Regions from separate parts of the Homo sapiens genome. Here region 2 is linked to region 1. The links are contacts of gene promoters, found by promoter capture Hi-C in human tissues and cell types (Jung and others, 2019). All regions are on one chromosome and are shown on one strand. Each heading gives the region's core, a stretch centred on a gene start or on the middle of the fragment in contact. The rest is flanking DNA. Distances are from core to core; before and after follow the strand shown.

Region 1 (7,161 bases), core at 3,267-5,766:
TATACCGGTAGTTATGCCAACAAATACAAGTGGCCTTTCTCTCAGAGGTTGAGCATCCAGCCACCATGTCCTTGCTCAAACTGCAAATTGGTCTTGTCCAATTTGCAGTGTGTATATGTGGCTGTGTCAGTCTTACTAACTACCAGAACATTCAAAATCCTTAATCTAACTTGCCTGGGTTCACTGGAGTGTCATATAACACAAAATACACAAGGAAATGGAGAACAAAGTTGGCCGGCCCATGCAGCCTAGTTCAACTGTCAAATGAGAAGGAATTCTGAATAAGACAGCCCTTCTGCCTGACAATGCCCTTGCTGAGACAGCACAATTCACTTCAGAAGCTTCCTTACCAGCTCTTTGGAGAAGTAGCAAAATCTCCTAACTATACTCATGTGCCATGCCACTTGGTTCTCCACTCCATCCCACTGCTGGGGAAGAGAAGAAAAGATAATTGGAATATTGGAGATGAACAGCAAAAGCTCTTCTCCTCAACTGTCAGGGAGTCCTGAGGTGCCTGGAGGCAGGAAGATGAACTGATAACCCTCTCAGGTCCCCGGGACTTTAATTCAGGTAAAGCAGGATGCAGGCTCTGGCTTAACAGGGTAATCGTAGGAGCTCGGACTTGACCTGAGTGGGGACACTGGGAAGTGATTCCAAGGAAGGTGACCCTTGCCAGACATTCTTCGATATTCACCAACTGGTCTGTTCACCTGAGCTTTGAGAGCTCAGTTTTCTCCAGAGGGACTGTCAGGTCAAATCCTCATTCTCTGCATACAGGTCCTCATCCTGAAATTCTAGTCTCCTGGACTTGAAACTCCCGGGAAATGTGGAGAAAAGGGTGGATTTGAGAGGTGAATGCAAAAAGAAGGGAAGAAGAATGTTCAAGATGAGAAAATAGATCACTCTCTGAGACATGTTTTCTTTTAATCAGGAAATGAAAACTGAGGCAATTATAGGTTGAGGGGATAATTTTCTTTCACTTCTTGCTTTTTTTTCCAGGTGTTCTTCTTGCAGTCAAATGAGTCAGACAATTTCATGAATTGGCCCATTTCCTTTGTCTCTATGAACCTAAGGTATTATTCTCATTATTTATTTTTGTTTTACTTTTAGAAATGGAGTTTCACTCTGTCAACCAGGCTGGAGTGCAGTGGTGTGATTATAGCCCACTATAATCTTGAACTCCTAGGCTCAAGCAATCCTCTCATCTCAGCCTTTAAAAAAATTTTAATTTTAATTTCAATAGTTTTTGGGGTACACATCGTTTTTGGTTACATGGATAAGTTCTTCAGTGATGATTTCTGGGAATTTAGTGCACCTATCATCTGAGCAGTGTGTATTGTACCCAATATGTAGCCCTTTTTTTGTTGTTTTTGTTTTGTTTTTGAGACAGAGTCTCACTCCATCACCCAGGCTGGAGTGCAGTGGTGCAATCTCAGCTCACTGCAACCTCCGCCTCCTGGGTTCAAGTGATTCTCATGCCTCAGCCTCCTGAGTAGCTGGGATTACAGGTGCTGTGCCACCATGCCCAGCTAATTTTTGTATTTTTAGTAGAGATGGGGTTTCATCATGTTGGCCAGGCTGGTCTCGAACTCCTGACCTCAGGGGATCTACCCGCCTCAGCCTCCCAAAGTGCTGGGATTACAGGCATGAGCCACCCCACCAGGCCCAATATATAGTCTTTTATCCCTCACACTCATCCTCCCCTTCCCGGCCCACCACTGAGTTCCCAAAGTCCATTATATCATTCTTTACATCCTCATAGCTTAGCTCCCACTTATAAATAAAAATATATGATTTTTGGATTTCCATTCCTGAGTTACTTCACTTAGAATAATGGCCTCTAGCTTCATCCAAGTTGCTGCAAAAGACATTATTTCATTCCTTTTTATGACTGAGTAGTATTCCATGGTGTATATATACCACATTTTCTTTCTTTCTTTTTTTTTTTTTTTTGAGACAGAGTCTTGCTCTGTTGCCCAGGCTGGAGTGCAGTGGCGCCATCTCAGCTCACTGCAAGCTCCGCCTCCCAGGTTCACGCCATTCTCCTGCCTCAGCCTCCCGAGTGGCTGGGACTACAGGCGCCCACCACCATGCCCGGCTAATTTTGTGTATTTTTAGTAGAGACGGGGTTTCATCATGTTAGTCAGGATGGTCTCGGATCTCCTGACCTCGCGATCCGCCTGCCTGGGCCTCCCAAAGTGCTGGGATTACAGACATGAGCCACCACGCCCGGCCTATATACTACATTTTCTTTATCCACTCATTAGTTAATGGGCGCTTAGGTTGGTCCCATATTTTTGCAATTGCAAATTGTGCTGCTATAAACATGCATGTGCACGTGTCTTTTTCATATAATGACTTCTTTTCCTTTGGGTGGATACCCTGCCATGGGAATGATGCATCGAATGGTAGCTTTAGCTCTACTTCTAGTTCCTTAAGGAATCTTGCTGTTTTCTATAGTGGTTGTACTAGTTTACATTCTCACCAGCAGTTTTATGCATGTTCCCTTTTTGCCACATCCACATCAAAATCTATTATTTTTTGACTTTTATGACAATTCTCGCAAGAGTAAGATGGTATCTTATGGTGGTTTAATTTGTATGTCTCTGATAATTAGTGATGTTGAACATTTTTTCATATGTTTGTTGACTGTATATCCTCTTTTGAAAATTGTCTATTCATGTCCTTTGCCAATTTTTTGATGGGATTGGTTTTATCTGGCTGATCTGTTTGGGTTCCTTGTAGATTCTGGATACTGGTCCTTTGTCAGATGCACAGTTTGTGAATATTTGCTCGCACTCTGTGGATTGTCGGTTTACTCCGCTGATTATTTCTTTTGCTGTGCAGACCCTTTTTAGTTTAATTAGGTCTCATTTATTTATTTTCATTTTTGTTACATTTGCTTTTGAGGTCTTAGTCATGATTTCTTTGCCTGAGCTAATGTCTAGAAGTGTTTTTCTCATGTTATCTTCTAGAATTTTTATGGTTTCAGGTCTTAGACTTAAGTCTTTGATCCATCTGGAGTTGATTTTTGTGTAAGGTGAGAGACGAGGATCCAGTTTCATTCTACATGTCCACTTCAGCCTTTTGAGTAGCTGGGACTACAGGTGTGTGCCACCACATCTGGCTAATTTCAAAATATTTATTTAGTAGAGACAAGGTCTCGCTATGTTGGTCCAGTCTCTAATTCCTGGCCTCAAGTAATCCTTCCTCCTCTTTCTCCCAAAGTGCTGGGTTTAAAGGTGTGAGGCACCACGTCTGCCCTATTCTCATTATTGAATCTATAAAGTTCTTGGCATGGGCTCTGTCTCAGGGAGCAGTGCAGGGCTAAGTCCAGAATCCAGGTCTCCTCACCCAAGCCCTGGCTCTCAACTACCCCTCAGGGGTCTCTGCCCTCCTGTGGAAGAGAAGTTCCAGTTCCATGACAGGCAACTTGTCAGGATAAGCATCCAGAAACTGACCCGCCATCAGTGGCACTTTGACAACTGTCTTCTTAATTCAAGGTTCACTTAGCATAGGTCTCATAACTGCTTTGCTCAGAGCTGGCCTGCTGGCCTGCAGTTTAAAGAGAAAGGATGCTATGGCCAGGATCCTCAGTGTCACAAGAGAGGAAGTCAGGGAATCACAGAACCTTACAGCCAGAACAGACCCTGGAGAGCGGGAGGTCTGCTCTCCTTTCAGAAAGAGAAGCTAAGGCCCAGAGCAGGGAAGTGGCTTGTCCAGGGTCACACAGCTGAGCAAAGTGACAAACCTGGACCAGGAGCCAGCCTTCAGGTCAGCAGTCTGGTGCTCTTCCCACCTCAACCTGCTCTCCTCTTTCTTAAAGAAAAAGAAAGAGAAGGTGTTTCAGTAGTGAGTGTGGGATAGCCACCCACTTCACCATGGTTTGGAAGCATCTCTCCATCCCTCCTCTCACTCAACAGCTGTGGCAGAACAGTCAGGGCCTGCCTGACCTCTTGAGTTTTATTGTCTCCTCTCAACTTGGGCTTAAAGGGACTTTATTAACCATGACTAATACCAGAGGATCCAAAGCTGCACCCACTTGTTAATTTTGAGGAATTTTTAAATGCGGGATTTAAAAAAGATTTAATTTCACGCATAGGTATGAACAGCCCCTCATCATCCCAGGTAGAGGATGAACAACTCATCATCCCGGGTAGAGGCAGGTAAGTGTGTCCAGCGTCCCTCAGGGAATGCTCTTCTGATGCCAAACCCTCTGCTTCCGCGGGGTCACTTCTCGGGTGGTTTTGTTTCTCCTCTGCTTCCACAGTTGCAAACCCTCGAAGTGCCACGACCCCTGGGGAAACTCGATCTTAAGTCCCATGGCCAAACGCTCCAGCCCGCGGGGCTCTCAGGACACCACAGCGATCGGATTTCGCGTGGCCGCCAGGCTCCCCCTACTCCTGTCCCCTCCCGCCAGAGAACCCCTGGAGCCAATCAGAGCGTCGCGGAGCCCGGGGTTGTAGAGTCCCGAGCCCGGGACCCGCCCCTCTTTGTTGCGGTGGCCAATAGACGCATTCGGAACATCGGCGGCTGCCCGGGTGACTTGGTTATATGTCACAGAATAACATTCGAGAATGGGACATGGAATGAGGCGACGGCCCCAGCAAGCCCCAGCAGCCCCAGCCCCAGCCCCAGGCCCAGCAGCAGCAGCAGCAGCCCCTGCTCTCCCGCCGCCCGGAGAGGCTCTGCAGCCATGAAGCCAACCGTCCCGAGGTAGGATCTTGGAGCTGCCGCGCGCCCTTCCTGCGCGCCGCCCGCCTGCAGCCAGTCCCTCCCGGTGATAGGCGCTGGAACTCGGGGAAAAGGGGGCGGATGGAGCTCTTTCCACTAGATCCCCGCCGGGGTCCGGGAGGGCTTCCTGGAAGAAAGCGGGCCGCCTTGCAAGCCAAGGCTGCTGCAGCGCCCTCGCGCCAGCTCTGGGCGCTCACATGCCAGCACGTTCGTGGCTCCCCTCCTCTCTTGGCCACATCTGAGGACCCAGGAATGTGTGGAGCCTTGCGGGAACCTCCTGTTCCTTCATGCTACACAAGCTGTCTTTCTTCTCCCCACATCTTGCGCTCCGCATCCCCCAAGCTCCTTGTGCCCCTCCATCCCCAACCCCCCGGGTTTAGGTGTGTGTGAAGCTTCGTGGCACATTTTGAGCTGCCTTTCTAGGTAATCGCAGGGCTGGAAGCCCGTCATCGATTCTCAGGGAGGCTGTCAGCGTGCAGGGGGGAGCGGGGAGTGTCGTGGAGACACTCCGGGACCCCTCACTCGGTTCCGCTGTGCGTCCACTTAGCTGTGGTGTCAGCTGTGTCTCCGCTGATTTCAGGCACCGCCGGTAAGCAGGGAGCCTCCGCGGAGCTCCCGCCGCCGCTCCCCCTTGGTGAGTCCTGCCGCAGCGAGAGGCATGGAGAAGGCCGCCCCCGCGGGGCGCTGATCCCCTCGCCGCGCCCGCGCGCACACGCCCCCCGCCGCCGCCGCCGCTGCCGCCGCCGCGCGCCCCCAGTACCTCGCTCCCCGCCCAGGCCCCACCATGACCGGCTCCGCGGCCGACACTCACCGCTGCCCCCACCCCAAAGGCGCCAAAGGCACCCGGTCCCGGAGCAGCCACGCGCGGCCCGTGAGCCTCGCCACCAGCGGGGGCTCAGAGGAGGAGGACAAAGACGGCGGGGTGCTGTTCCACGTCAACAAGAGCGGCTTCCCCATCGACAGCCACACCTGGGAGCGCATGTGGATGCACGTGGCCAAGGTGCACCCTAAGGGGGGAGAAATGGTGGGCGCCATCAGGAACGCCGCCTTCTTGGCAAAGGTCAGTGGCTTCCAGGGCGGAGTTGGGGGGCTGGGGGTAGGTAGGCAGCGATGGGACCGTTTCAGCCTATACATAGCAAACACAGGCAATCTCCATTTTCCTAGTCCTGCTACAAACTCCCTTCCTCTCCCCATTCCTTCCTGCCAGCCCTTTTCTAATTGAGATATTTAGATTGGAAGCCTAAGAAATGGGGAAGGGAGAGGTAGCGGGCTTGCTATCCTGGGACTGTGTAATTGGATTGTGCCAAGGTGTCTTTGAAGCTCCAGCCAAACTCTATTATTTACTCACCCCCACATACATCCTCCTTCAGCAAAAGCTAGAGCCACCAGGTACCAGCGATGCCAAAGAATGCACAGACCCCAGGGATCCCACCCTGCTTGTTCTCTTTGGAGTGTCTTGCTCCTCCTCTGCTCCCCTCTTCCCCCAGCAAATGATTTATTAAGCTGTGAATGAATTTGAAATCAACCAGTCAGACTTCTCAGTGTGAATAATTTCCAGACTTTTTGCCAGTTTTTTTTCTTTTCTTTCTGGTTTTTTTGTGTGTGTGTGTGTGACAGTGACTTTCACCTCTGAAACTTGCAAAACGGTGAACTCTCTCTCTCTCTTCCCAGCTTATTTGTGCTCCAAGAAAAAAGAAAGACTTTTGGCTGAGACTTAAAAGGGACTTTCCAGTACACATGATGAATTAGTCTCACTGGATAGAAAAAGAGGATGAGGAGTGAAACTCTCTTTTTGCCTTGGAGAGAAGCCAGTGAGCCATTTGGGTTTGGTGGCTAAGGATATCTTTACCGAGGGAGGGAGATGTACCCTGGTGGGAGTAGATACGTTATATGAAACATCAAAATGCAAACTGGGGAGAAATGCTGCCGAGCCTCGGGGTTATAGCGTGGCGGATGGTTTCCCCTGGACCCTGGGGACGCTGGTACGGCTGAGAAGATTCCTGGGCAGGTCTAGGAATGCCAGACTTGAGACCCGGAAGGCCATCTGGTTGATTCCCCAGCCTGGTGACAGCTGAGCATCTGAGCCTGCAGGCCAGAAAGCTGTGTGTGTCCTTGGAGAAGTGACAGAGCCTCTAAACTTCCTGCTGCAGTCAGTTACAGTGTTCTATTACTCTGCTGGTCAAGGAGATCTTCATTGTGCCCAACTAGAATCTTGCCTGCTTTAGTGTCAACCATAATTACCCTTGCTGAGTTCTTGAATATGAGAACAACCTTTGTTCCTGGTTTGCAGTTCTGACTTGAGAATTTTTCCTCCAGTGAGGAGCCGAGAGCCCTTAAACTTGGAAGAAAAGTGACCACAAGGAAAAAAACGCCTGTTCCTACTGTCCCATGCTGCCTTTCTTAGTAGCACCCGTACCAACCCTGCCT
Region 2 (7,161 bases), core at 3,475-5,974, 530 kb before region 1:
CATGATGGTCTGTGCGGGTACAGGCAGAAGGCACAGGTACAGTACACAGGCCCTAGGCTGAAGCCAAGCAGAAGGCAGTGTCAGTGGAGAGGACCACTAGGGGCATGTAGTGTAACCACCTGATGGGTTCTTCCTGCCTGCTGTATAGACAATATCAATTCACTGAGACCATGGCATTGCAGTAAAGAAAGAGTTTAACTGACTGAGGCCACAGGGAGACAGAGTTATTACACAAATCAATCTCCCCAAGCATTTGGGGGCCAGGGGTTTTCAAAGGTAGTTTGTGGGATAGGATAGGGGTGGGTGCTTGCTATTGATTGGTTGGGGTTGCAATCACAGGGGTGTGGGAAATGGTCCTCCAGTGCACTTAGTCACTGCTGGGTGGGGGCCACAGGAGTGATTGGTGGGTCCAGGTGGAGCCATCAGTGTCGGACATGCAAAAAACCCGAAAAGACATTTCAAAAAGCCAAGCTGAGGTTCTACGATAGTGACGTTATCTGCAGGAGTAATTGGGGAAGTTGCAATGTCTTGTGACCTCTAGAATAATGGCTGGCAATCATTTACATGTATACCTTAGCAGGAGGCATTTTCAGGAGTCAGGGCAAGGGAGAAGCCAGGGCTTTTTTTTCCCTGTTCTCTGCCTCTCACAGTTTCCCTTCCATGGCTCCAGCCCCTGATACAAAGGCTTTTTGTGGTCCTAGCTTCAGCCAGGTGACTCAGGCCCTTAGACTCTAATAAACACCACTGTTGCCTGGCGTGGTGGCTCACGCCTGTAATCCCAGCACTTTGGGAGGCTGAAGCGGGTGGATCACCTGAGGTCGGGAGTTTGAAGCCAGCCTGACCAACATGGAGAAACCCTGTCTCTACTAAAAATACAAAGAATTAGCCGGGCGTGGTGGCGCACACCTGTAATCCCAGCTACTCGGGAGGCTGAGGCAGGAGAATCACTTGAACCTGGGAGGTGGAGGTTGCAGTGAGCTGAGATTGTGCCACTGCACCCCAGCCTGGGCAACAAGAGCAAAACTTCATCTCAGAAAAGATACATAAAAATAAATAAACACCCCTGTTACCCTTCCATTGGCTGGAATGGTGACTTCCTGCTGTTGATACTCTTGGTTGCCTCAGGGTTATTGTCTCAGCTTCTTTCATCACCTGTGTAACTGGCTCCCTGTATTCAGCCATTCTGTTCTATCCAGAATGGTTTCTATTTTGGGAGAGAGAGCATCAGGATAAATAGCTAATGCATGTGGGGCTTAATACCTAGGTGATGGGTTGATAGATGCAGCAAACCACCATGGCACACGTTTACCTATGTAACAAACCTGAACATTCTGTACATGTATCCCAGAACTTAAAATAAAATAAAATTTTAAAGAAAAAGAATACTTTCCATTTTTCTTGCCGGTGACTAACGGATTCCAAGTGCTTTGGAAAAATATGTCTGGGTTCAAGTAGAAAATGACAATCAGAGGGGTGCCTGGAGAAATCCAAGGGCCTATAAGCATGTTATTCATGTATAGACTTATCCTCAGCATCTCAGGGAGGGGGGAGTTATATGGGATCAGTAGAAATTAGAAGGGTCTTTTGGCTTAAAGATGTTCCTTACAAACAGAACTGTAGAAAGAGAAAGGGCCCAAGCAGAGAGGCAGTACAAGGTATGATAGGGATGTTATCGTGACATGCATCAGGAAGGGGATGATATTCAATTCGGGGGTTTTCAAGGGCCTCCTCCATCCCCAGAGATCTTGTGACACAGTGTAATGTAGATACTGCACTTCGAGGTTTACAATTCCACTACCATTGTTAGTTTTAACACAGTCCTATGAAAGAGGCAGGCTGGCATGTTACTAATGTGGAAATTGAGATTCAGAGTAAAGTTAATGCACACAGATCCTGTTTAAGTCACTCTGCACTAGAAACCCATCCTGTTAAATAAGTAAAAGTATAAACATTTGGTATAGTCGCTGGGGGGAAGGATAGCCTGGTGGTTATGGCAGGCTGTAGGACACATGGCCTGTGCTTGACTTGGCTCTGTCACCTACTGTGAGAGCTACGTGAGGTACTTAAGGTCCCCTGACATAGTAATAGTTATGTCCCAGAGTTAAAGTGAGGATTAAAAGAGCTTATAAACATCAAAGTGCTGAAACCAGTACCTGGCATACAGTGAGCCCTTTTCTGGTCTCCTTTGCCAGTTCTACCAACCACCAAATGTTAGGAGCTCAGTCCCCTCTGTCCACATGCACTTCCCTTGGCGATCTCAGCCATTCCTGTGGCTTTACATACAACACCTATGCCAGTGAATTCCAAAATTTCTATCTCCAGCCCAGAACTCTCCCCTCATTCTAGACTTGTATATTTAATTGCCAATTTGATACCTTCAGTTAGATGTCTAACACACATCACAAACTGAACAAGCCCCAAATTGATCTTGATCTTCTCCTCCAAAACCTACTCCTATATCAATAAATGGCAATTCCATCTTTCTAGTTACTCAGGGCAACAACCTCCAACTCACCTCTGACTCCTCTCTGTTTCTTACATCCCAAGTCTCATCTGTCAGCAAATTCTATCAACCACATCTTCAAAACATATCCATAGTCAACCACTTCTCACCACATCCCCAGGCACCACCCTGGTCCAAGCAGCCATCATCTCCCACCTGGATTATTGCAGTAGCCTCCCGGCTTCAGCCAGAGTTATTCCATTAACATTTAAACTTATTCTGTCACAGGTGTCCTAACCAGAATGACTCCATCTTGAATAAAGGCCATATAAAGCCAAAAAAAAAAAAAAAAACTGCTGGGTGACTTTCTCAGGAAGTTAGGCACTCTTTATCACAAGATGTCTAGGGCTGAGGAAACAAGTTAATGGAAAAAGGCATTCTTAGTTTAAAAATGGGTTTTACTCTAATGATGCTATTAATAGTACACCCATAAATTCTCGCTGAAATCAATAGTTACACAAGAGAACATGAATACTAATATCCTGTCACAAGCTGATCACAGGACTTTATAATAAAGTACACTATTCTTAGCCCTAATATCCTATGTAAGCAAGCGTTACATTAAGGTAGAGGCATTCCTCCTCTTGCTTTCTGAGCATGCCCTACTCTGTAATAGAGTGGTTTCTAATAAACTATTTAAACTTTACTATACTCTGTGACTTGCCCTGAATTATCTCCCTGCAAGAGCCAAGAACCTGCTCTTGGGTTCTTGGATGAGACCCCTTTTCTGGTAACATTTTCCCATTGCATCTCCACTGGAACCTTAATGAGGTGAGACCCTCCAACCCAGAGGAAATACACTGTGCAGCACCAATTGGCCAACTTTGGGTAAGTAGTGGAATATATTTTTATAGTGGTAAAGGACGGGGTACTTGTCTAAAACTGGTTAGAGGTCCAACTAGGAAGGGTTGGAGGCCCTCCACATCCTCATAGCTGGATATGGATTCAGTGTGACGAGATATTAACCATTACTCCCTTTGGATTAGCCCTCCTTGCACTCTTGGCTGCTCGTTAAAGGCTGCTACTTGCCAGTTTCCTGATTGCTGTCTATGTTTTACTGCTGTGTTTTCCTGCTGTTTTTCACAGGCCTCACTTGACCAGTCCTGATATTTTTAACTTTTCACTTTCCTCATTTGCCTTCAGATTATCGGCTCTTCGCCTGTCTGCTCCGGCATCCTGTTAAGGTACATTGGGGATGAATGGTTCTGCAAGATTTACTTTCCCTATATGTAGCCCATTTACATGAATTATTTATTGCCTCCCCTTCTCTCAAAATTGAAACTTGGTACTTCCAATTTTTATTTATTTATTTATTTATTTATTTGGAGATGAAGTTTTGCTCTGTCGCCCAGGCTGGAGTGCAGTGGCGTGATCTCAGCTCTCTGCAACCTCCGTTCCCCAGGTTCGAGTGATTCTTATGCCTCAGCCTCCCGAGTAGCTGGGACTACGGGTGTGTGCCACCATGCCTGGCTAATTTTTGTATTTTTAGTAGAGACGGGGTTTCAGCATGTTGGTCAGGCCGGTCTTGAACTCCTGACCTCAAGTGATCCACCCACCTCGGCCTCCCAAAGTGCTGGGATACAGGCGTGAGCCACCGCGCCCAGCCAGTACTTACAAATTTTAAATGAAAAATTCCAGGGTGTATGATTGAGCCAGGCAGCAATTATGCCAGTCCCATGTAGACAAACAGCTATAGAATAGGGAATTGGAGATTTGTTTTTAGCAGTTCCTTTTCATCTGCTCACTAATCAAATGACTTTTACTTCTTGGTTACGGACAGCAAGACCATGTAAGTTTCACCCTGCTTGCCATCACTGTCCTGAGCCTGGACATTCCTTCCCGGGTCTGTGTCATTTCCCTTGCTTAATGAGACATTTCTTTGTCAAGTCCCCTATTGTGGTCTCTCTAGTGCAAATGGCCCAACTCATTATTTGGGTAATATGAATAGCTGAATTAAAGTGACCATGGGGGCTGGGTATAGTGGCTCACACCTGTAATCCTAGCACTTTGGGAGCCCAAAGCAGGAGGATCATTTGAGCTGAGGAGTTCAAGAGCAGCCTGGGCAACATAGCAAGACCCCGCCTCTATTTTTATTAAAAAAAAAAAAAGTGATCACAGGATCATTTTCCCTTGCTCATTTGGCTCTGAAAGCTCTTTCATCCTTTTTAGTGGAGCTTGGCCAGTGGCAGTACAACCTTATTCACAATGATCTCTATTTTCACCTTTACCTGCTCCCTTCATGGGTAACACAGCCTTAATCCTAAAAAGCTCACCACTAGGGTACATATTAGAGCATTGGGACCAATTTAAATTAGGTGGGCTTAAGAAAAAGAAATGTTTATTTTTATGTAATATTGTTTGGCCCTAATAGGGCCAAATAATAATGTTATTATTCCAAATAATAATAATGTTATTTGGAAAGTCAAGAAAAATGGCCACCTAATGGAACTACAGCCTTTAATAGTTATACTTCAACTTGATTTGTTTTGCAAGCAGGAGGGAAAATGGGGTGAAATACCATATGTTCAAACATTTCTATTGCTTAGTCAGGATAAAACTTTAAAACAAGCATGTGCATATTTAATGAAAATAAAAGAGGAAAACTAATTAGATATTCTAGATGATCTTTCAATGCAAGCCTTGGTCAGTTCCAATGCTTCAGGTGCATCTGCCCCTGTCCCTTCTAGCCCTTCTAGTAGTTCTGTTGAGACCTCTTCATCTCATCCTCCTTACCCGTCTAGCCCTATTTTACATCTACCTCCTTCTGAGATGCTTAGTCCTATTCTGTACCCGTTACTCCCTGAGGAACCCAGCCCCACCTGTATTACCCATAGTGGAGCCTCTTAGCAACTTTCAAAGGAAAATCTTTGCTTAGAGAAGTGGTAAATGGGGAACAGGGCACTATAAGGGTATGTGTCCCTTTTTCTATGTCTGATTTGGCATTATGCAAAGAAAAATTTGGTTGTTTCTCTGAAGACCTAGGAAAATTTATAGATGAGTTTGAGAAACTAACTCTGACATAATTTAACCTGGCAGGATTTGCATATTTTGTTATCCACCTGCTGTACAGTGGAAGAAAAACAGTGGATTTTGGAAATAGCTAGGACACATGCAGATGAAATGCTATCCCACAATTCTAATCATACTATCTACAGGGTTGGGGGTATTGCAGTTCCTGATCAAAATCGAGGATGGAATGATCAAAGGAATAGTGAAGACTGAGAAGAGAGATCACATGATCACTTGTTTATTAGAAGGGATAAACACATGTACGAAAAAACATGTTAATTATGATAACGTGAAGGAAGTTACCCAAGGTAAAGATGAGAATCTGGCTTTGTTTCAGGGACAATTGAGGCAATTAGGAAATACACTGATCCCACTTCAAAAGGACAAACCTGATTAGGGGTACATTGTATAATCCAGTCTGCCCTTGATATCCATTGGAAACTGCAAAAAAAGCAGCCTTGGTTCCCCAGACTACTATGAACCAGTTTTGGGACACGGCATTTATGGTTTTTAATAACAAGGACAAGACAGAGAAAGCAGAAAAACTTAAGACAGCTTCTCAAAAGGAACAGCTCTTAGCTGTGGCCTTAAGCTTGCCACACATATGGGGGTTGCCCTTACACTTCTCAGCCTTGGCAAGGGAAGCTAGAAGGCAGAAAGCCCCAATCTGGGCTTCCAGATCACCGCAACTTGAATATAAATTAATGTGCTTGCTGTAAGACAACTGGCCATTAGGAAGAGGCGCACCACTCACTCTCGGGTTTGCTCAGACATCCTTAGTTTAGGTGCTGAAGGCCAAGAGTGATGGGGCTCAAGACCTTCTGCCACAGCTCTCATTGGGCAACAAAACCATGTATCTGGAGGATCCTGGGGTAACCCTTGAAGTGGCAGGTAAGAATATTAATTTCCTTCTCTATACAGGGGCTGCTTGCTCTGTTTTGGCACATTATGAAGAGGCTTTATCATCCCGAGACTGTATGATCACAGGGATAAATGGACAAGCTCATAGGTGCTGTTTTAGCATCCTATAAGCTGCTCTTCTTTTTTTTTTTTTTCTTTTTTTGAGACAGAGTCTCATTCTGTCACCAGGCTGAAGTGCAGTGGCACGATCTCGTCTCATGGCTTTGTATGTTTTTCTTTTAATGCCTGAATGCCCTGCCTCTCTTTTGGGAAGAAATGTATTAATTCAGCTTCAAACTGTAGACTCTTTCAGAGATTACAAGGTGGATGAGGAATTGCTTTTACTTCTCTCCAAGACAATGGAGAAAAATTAATAGAGATTCAGCTAGCTTGCATGTTGTAGTAACCTCCCAAATAGATCCTATGGTTTGGAACATTTAAGTTCTGGGGAGGGCATTACATACCCCTCCAGTTTGTATTTAACTTAAACCAAACCTGGTGTCTCATATTCCCTGGAAAAGACAATACCCTCTGAGACCAGAGGCACAAAGAGGAATCCAGCCATTAATAAATAAGTTTCTGCAGTTTGGTTTGCTGAGACTCTGAGTCTCCCTGTAATACTCCAATCTTGTCAGTTAAAAAGACAAGTGGAGACTATAGATTTGTTCAAGACCTCCTGGTTGTCAATGAGGCTGTTGTTCTCATACATCCTATAGTATGCAATCCTTACAGGCTGTTAGCCCAGGTCC

Evidence for each region. Contacts are between HindIII fragments. The study calls those that stand out against the background at their distance.
Region 2: a fragment that was not itself captured here is called in contact with the fragment with the promoter of VASH2 in region 1 in 1 of the 25 tissues and cell types used here (spleen).

Annotation. Positions count from the first base shown.
Region 1 is chr1:212,946,025-212,953,185 of GRCh38, forward strand. It overlaps VASH2 (vasohibin 2), which reads left to right and starts at 4,517. Exons shown (of 8, transcript NM_001301056.2): 1 at 4,517-4,716; 2 at 5,315-5,794. The coding sequence starts at 5,519. RefSeq lists enhancers at 4,503-4,652, 5,173-5,222. The HindIII fragment of the contact is 12,745 bases long and covers 1-7,129 here.
Region 2 is chr1:212,418,333-212,425,493 of GRCh38, forward strand. No RefSeq gene overlaps it. Among named protein-coding and RNA genes, the nearest start is that of PACC1, 7.0 kb to the left of the region's middle. The HindIII fragment of the contact is 6,505 bases long and covers 1,473-7,161 here.